Regions from separate parts of the Homo sapiens genome. Here region 1 is linked to region 2. The links are contacts of gene promoters, found by promoter capture Hi-C in human tissues and cell types (Jung and others, 2019). All regions are on one chromosome and are shown on one strand. The core of a region is centred on a gene start or on the middle of the fragment in contact, and the rest is flanking DNA. Distances in the headings are between cores, read along the strand shown. Region 1 holds the start of BBS1 (Bardet-Biedl syndrome 1). Region 2 holds the start of RBM4 (RNA binding motif protein 4).

Evidence for each region. Contacts are between HindIII fragments. The study calls those that stand out against the background at their distance.
Region 1: a contact is called between the fragment with the promoter of BBS1 here and a fragment that was not itself captured in region 2, in 2 of the 25 tissues and cell types used here (dorsolateral prefrontal cortex and spleen).

Annotation. Positions count from the first base shown.
Region 1 is chr11:66,509,195-66,511,894 of GRCh38, reverse strand. It overlaps BBS1 (Bardet-Biedl syndrome 1), which reads right to left and starts at 1,260. Exons shown (of 17, transcript NM_024649.5): 1 at 1,189-1,260; 2 at 806-882; 3 at 656-690. The coding sequence starts at 1,235. It overlaps DPP3 (dipeptidyl peptidase 3), which reads right to left. Exons shown (of 18, transcript NM_130443.4): 18 at 2,238-2,700. The coding sequence ends at 2,644. RefSeq lists an enhancer at 1,349-1,398. The HindIII fragment of the contact is 12,258 bases long and covers 1-1,991 here.
Region 2 is chr11:66,637,861-66,640,560 of GRCh38, reverse strand. The region is part of intron 1 of RBM14-RBM4 (RBM14-RBM4 readthrough); the gene reads right to left. It overlaps RBM4 (RNA binding motif protein 4), which reads right to left and starts at 1,858. Exons shown (of 4, transcript NM_002896.4): 1 at 1,809-1,858; 2 at 438-861. The coding sequence starts at 849. RefSeq lists enhancers at 982-1,693, 1,560-1,929, 1,694-2,407. The HindIII fragment of the contact is 5,623 bases long and covers 1-2,700 here.

The sequences.
Region 1 (2,700 bases), core at 11-2,510, 130 kb after region 2:
CCCAAGTAGCTGGGATTACAGGTGCCCATCACCATGCCCGGCTAATTTTTGTATTTTTAGTAGAGATGGTGTTTCACCATGTTGGACAGGCTGGTCTCGAATGCCTAAGCTCAAGCGATCCACCCACCTCAGCCTCCCAAAGTGCTGGGATTGCTGGCCTTAAAATTAAATTTAAAATGTAACATTTTTACTATGGAAAATTTTCATTCACATACAAAAGTAGAGAGACTCATATAATGAGTCCCCATATATCCCATTATCCAGCTTCAAAAATTGACAGCTCATGGCCCATCTTAAAATCTTTTGATAAACATCAAACGTTCACTTCCCTCCTTTTTACTTTCCCTCCAGATTCTAGTGCCCACCCCCAACCAAGGGATTTGCCCTTCCAACAAAGAAATCAGGTTAACTAAGAGGCTTTGTCTTAGTAGAATCCCCAGAAATATTTGATCTGCTTTACTTTCTGCAGTCTGTATTATGAAATCAATAAGTTCTCTTCACTTTCCATATAAAAACAAAATTTAACGCTAAATGTGCTTTTTCACAGTATATGTGAATTCCAGAGTATGCTGGGCCTATTTTCAGCCGTCAGGAAATCTCATTTCTGGGTACACCCCCCTACCCTCAACTCTCCTGGCTAGGGTGATATGCTTACCTTGTATTCCCCATCCCCATGTAAATCTGCCAGCGCTGGAAAACAAAAGGGCCAAAACCAGAGTCTCAGAATCCCAGAGGCTTCACTACAGGACCATTGTCTGACTCCCCATCCCACTAGAACCCAGGGTTCCTGGTTCCAGAGACTCACCTAGGCAGGCAGAAAAGGTGTGGATATTGGCCATTGGGTCGTAGTGCGCATCCAACCACTTCGAATTGGCCTCATTGCTGGAAGTGGGGGAAAGACAGTTGGGGAGTGAGTCCCATGGGAGGGGAAAAAAAAACTTTGAGGAAGCTGGTACAGGTCACTCTGAACATAAGGTACAGAACGTCTGGGTACAAGTCCAGGCTCCGCCACTGGCTCACCGAGCGACCTCCAGACACACATATGCACATCTTAGGCCTCGGTTTCCCTATCTGACCTCTTAAGAGTCCTTCCAGACTGCCCGAGAACAGCAGGAGCCCAGAGCCCGGGGACCAAGGGACCCTCTTTACACGGGTGGGAAAAGAGGCCTTGAGGAGCCCTGCCTTCACCTCTCAGCTCCGCAGGCGTCGGAATCCGATGAGGACGCAGCGGCCATCTTCGCAGGCGTCGTCCTGGCAACCGGCCCCGCCCTCGCGTAACGCCCAATAGTGCCCGAGCACAGGGAAGGGCGAGTACAAAGGTTCCGGGCGCCAAGCTTTCCCACCCAGGCTCAGGAGGACGCGCTGGCCACCTTCCTGGGTTGAGGAATCTGTCTCAGATTCCTCAAAGATATTTATCTTTGCTCCTTCCCAGTCAGAGCCACCTTTCCAGGCGTCTGGGTCCTACAATCTCTGGGTCAGCCACAGAGCCCTCTGGCTTCCAGGGTTGGAAAGAAGCCCCTTCTAGCATTTATGAGCAGCAAAAAGAACTCCTCCTGTCTCCATCTTCATGGTTACCCGGTTGAAAAGGACCATGTCCTGCCTTGCTGCGTTACTGTAGAGGTCCAGGCCCAGAGAAACAAAACACGAGGGTTATGGGACAAATGCAGAGGATTCTGACTGAAGTTGAGTTTGTAGGTTCCCAGAACTTTTTTTTTTTTTTTTTTTTTTTGAGACGTAGTCTCGCTCTGTCGCTTGCGCTGGAGCGCAGTAGCGCGATTTCGGCTCACCGCAACCTCCGCCTCCCGGGTTCCAGGGATTCTCCTGCCTCAGCCTCCCGAGTAGCTGGGATTACAGGCGCATGCCACCATGCCCAGCTACTTTATTTTTTAGTAGAGACGAGGTTTCACCATATTGGCCAAGCCGGTCTCGAACTCCTGACCTCGTGATCCCCTCGCCTCGGCCTCCCAAAGTGCTGGGATTACAGGCATGAGCCACCGTGCCCGGCCCCAGAACATTTAAAAATGCAAGGAATGCCACAAAGGAGAGCTGCAAAAATTGTGCTATGTTCAGCTCTGTGACTGCGTATCCTCATCTAGAGATAATGTCAACATCCTGTTGTGGAAGGGAGGCTAAAAATGGCCCTCCTTGCCCCCTCCCCAGGCCTTGAGCCCATCACTCTGCTGGGAGTAAATGAGAAGACAGGCAAAGGCAAGGAGGAGCCACACACGCCGCAAAGATGGTGGTTGTCTCTAATATTTATTTGTCTGGTTATAAAATTAATATGTGAGGAGCATTGGATTTGGTGAGAACGTTTTGAACCCTAGCTGTCACGTGCCACCTGCGGGATCTAGACCAGTGACTTCTCAGAACTGCCATTTCCTCATCTGGTAGACAGGATGGTAAGCCCTGTCTTGCTCACTCCACGTATGGCAGTGCAGATGAAATGAGATCACAGAGGGGAAGCAATTGGCAGGCTGGAAAGTGCTGACAAATGGAAGGGGTTGTGTCACCACCCTCAGCTGAGGTAGTACCAAGGTCCAAGCTCCTGCCCCTCCCCCTCCCCAGCCCCTAAATACACACACGAATGGAGGGCCACTTGCAGCCTTGGTCTGATGGAATTGGGGGCAAGGCCACACATCTTCCTCAAGCTTGGCCAGATGGGGCCTCACTGGGGCCCTTCCAGAATCGGGCATCGGCTGT
Region 2 (2,700 bases), core at 158-2,657:
ATTCTGGTCCTATAAGTGTCGCTTGACATGTTTTTGAGAGGTTCTTCACGTAAAATGCAGAATTCTGATCCTGTGCTGAGGGCAATAAATTCAGAGTGAGGAACTCTGAACTGTGCTCTACTACAAAAAAATAAAAAATAAAAAAGGCCCAGTAACTCAGAAAGCCTTCAAAGAAAAGGGTTTCTGCACTGATAAGCACAAAAGCCGTAGGGGCTCCAAATAAAAGGTGAGTGGCTTTTCTCCAGGAGACATTTGCCTAAGGTAAAGCCCCTAAGTCCCATGCATTCTACATCATAAGAAGTCCATCACCCACACTTATTTCTTCATCACCAGCCAGCCAACAGCTGTTATCTTTACCAAACCTCTCCTTTTACTTATCCAACCATTTTCTGCACACAGCCTTGTGTTCAGCCCTCTACCCAAAGAGGGTGGTTCACCTTGAAACTCTGTGTTATCAAGGCCCCTGATGGCCTCCACTGCATCCTCTGCCCGCTCCATGTGTACGAAGGCATAATCTTTCACGATGTCACATTCGATGACCGGACCATACTCCTCAAACTTGGCTCGAAGCTCCTTATTGGTGCAGGTGGGACTGATGTTGCCCACATGCAACTTTGTTGAGGTTTTGCTCTTATTCTTGCTGGCTTCCACGTTGATGTTCACCCCATGAAGCTTGTAATGGTGCAGGTTGCGTATGGCATCCTCAGCTGCCGTCTTGTCTTCTATGTGCACAAAGCCGTAATTCTTAATGATGTCACATTCCAGCACCTTCCCATACTGCTCGAAGAGTGAGCGAATCTCCTGCTCTGTAGCCTCCCGGGGCAGGTTTCCGATGAACAGCTTCACCATCCTGACAAGAGCCTGGGAGAGAAAAACAAGACATCTGACAAAAGACCTCAGGCCCACATCCGTTCACAAAAGACAACGACTTTCACTCTAATGTATATTTCCAGTTTTCTCTCTCACACGCCTGCACACACACCTCCACACAATAATCAAATGGAAGTGGGAGTGAACTAAGGCCTGCTATAGTAGCCGCCATGAACCTGTAAGAATAAGAAGACGTCTGCAATAGGGAGGTCCTTAGTAGACAAAGGGTTTGGTAAGAACCGATACCTTCCAACAGAAATGGGCATGAAAGACAGCATATGAAGAAATGGGGGTACTAGGCTTTTCTATCCACTAGGAGGACAACAGAAAACAAAAGTCTACTAGGCTTGCTGACTGCCTGCCTGAAATTATCAACAGGCTTTTCCTCACGTAGGAACCAAAGCAGCCATCATTTCCGGGAAAATGGGCCTTGTAATAGCTACATTTGAGTTTCCTTTGGAAGTAATGAACGCGCGACTCGGATCAGACAGCGAGGAGTGGGAGATAAAGGAAATACTGGAGTGGTGAACGCCTCTCTCGGGGCACCGTCCTAGCTCCTGCCGAACACTGAAATGCGCGGCCGCGGAAAAGAGCTTCAGATTCATTAACCAGACGATGTCTCACGGCCCGAGAAATTCCCGAAACGAGAATGTAACTGTCAGATATAAGGGAAAGGGGGTTATCCCAGTGGAAATCTCGAGGCTCCAAGAGCAGCCATGTCGGGCGCGGGACAGGGTGGGCGAAAAAAAGCAAGGTATTCTCAGGGGGCGGTGGGGGAAGGGCTGCTCCCGGCTTACCGCGCAATGCCGAGGACCGAGGTCGGCTCTCAGTGACGGGTGTGGAGACTGCGGACCTACCAGGACACCCCCGAAGCCCAAGGGAGTGAGAGAAGATTTAACACAGTACAAGAAAGGCAGTGGAAAGGCTCGGAGTCTCACCCGCACAGAAACCAGCAGGGCCTCCTCCTCGCGGCGCGGACGCTTCTGACAAAACGCTAAAATGGCGGCGGCCGCAGCAGTGCTCTGAGTAGAAGGGGGAGGTGAGCCTACAACCGGATTGGCCACTCAAGAAAGTAAAAGGCCGGCGTTCCCTCAGATCCTCTTCCTGATTGGTTACCACGGACGCCAATTACCTAAGAGGCCGGCAAGAGGTGGAAACGTCTGTAACCTCGGAGCTTTTATGCGAAAGCCAATGGGCACCAACCTCGCGAAGCCGAACTCGCTGATTGGGCAAGAGATCAGCGTGAGGGCGGACCTACAAACGTGGGCTTCGCCGGCGGGGTGCGGCCCGCCATTAGGCGGAGCGAGCTAGAGCCCCGGGGTAGCAGTCTTTAGCTTCATGGCGCCAACTTCGTTAAGCTTCCACATTTCGCCACCTCCACGTGCACAGCCAGACAGTATTCCGCGCTCCATTTTGCCGTTCACTCTAGGTGTCTCCCTCTAACCTCCCAAGCACCACCCCCCCTCGCGGCCAGGACGCTGTGGAAATAGCTTATGCAGGCACATGCCAGGGAAGAAAAACAACGAAGACCCCCCCCAACCCACCACCCACCACTTCAGGAAACCAACCTTCTCCTTGGGCCAGCAGTCCACACTGTAGCCTTGAGAGTCCCGGAGCTCCCCCAAAATCAAACCTCTCACAGGTGGTGAAAGGACCTCTGTAATGGCCTTCCAGAAGTAGGCCCGGCAGGAGGCTGCACTGTCCAGGAGACGCTGAGGACAAGTTCCCTCTGGGAACCAGCCTCCCAGGGTCCGCGATGAAGAAACCTTTCTGAGACCATGGAGATTTAAAGTATACCCCGACCCCACCCTGAGAAAAAACTGGAGCAGC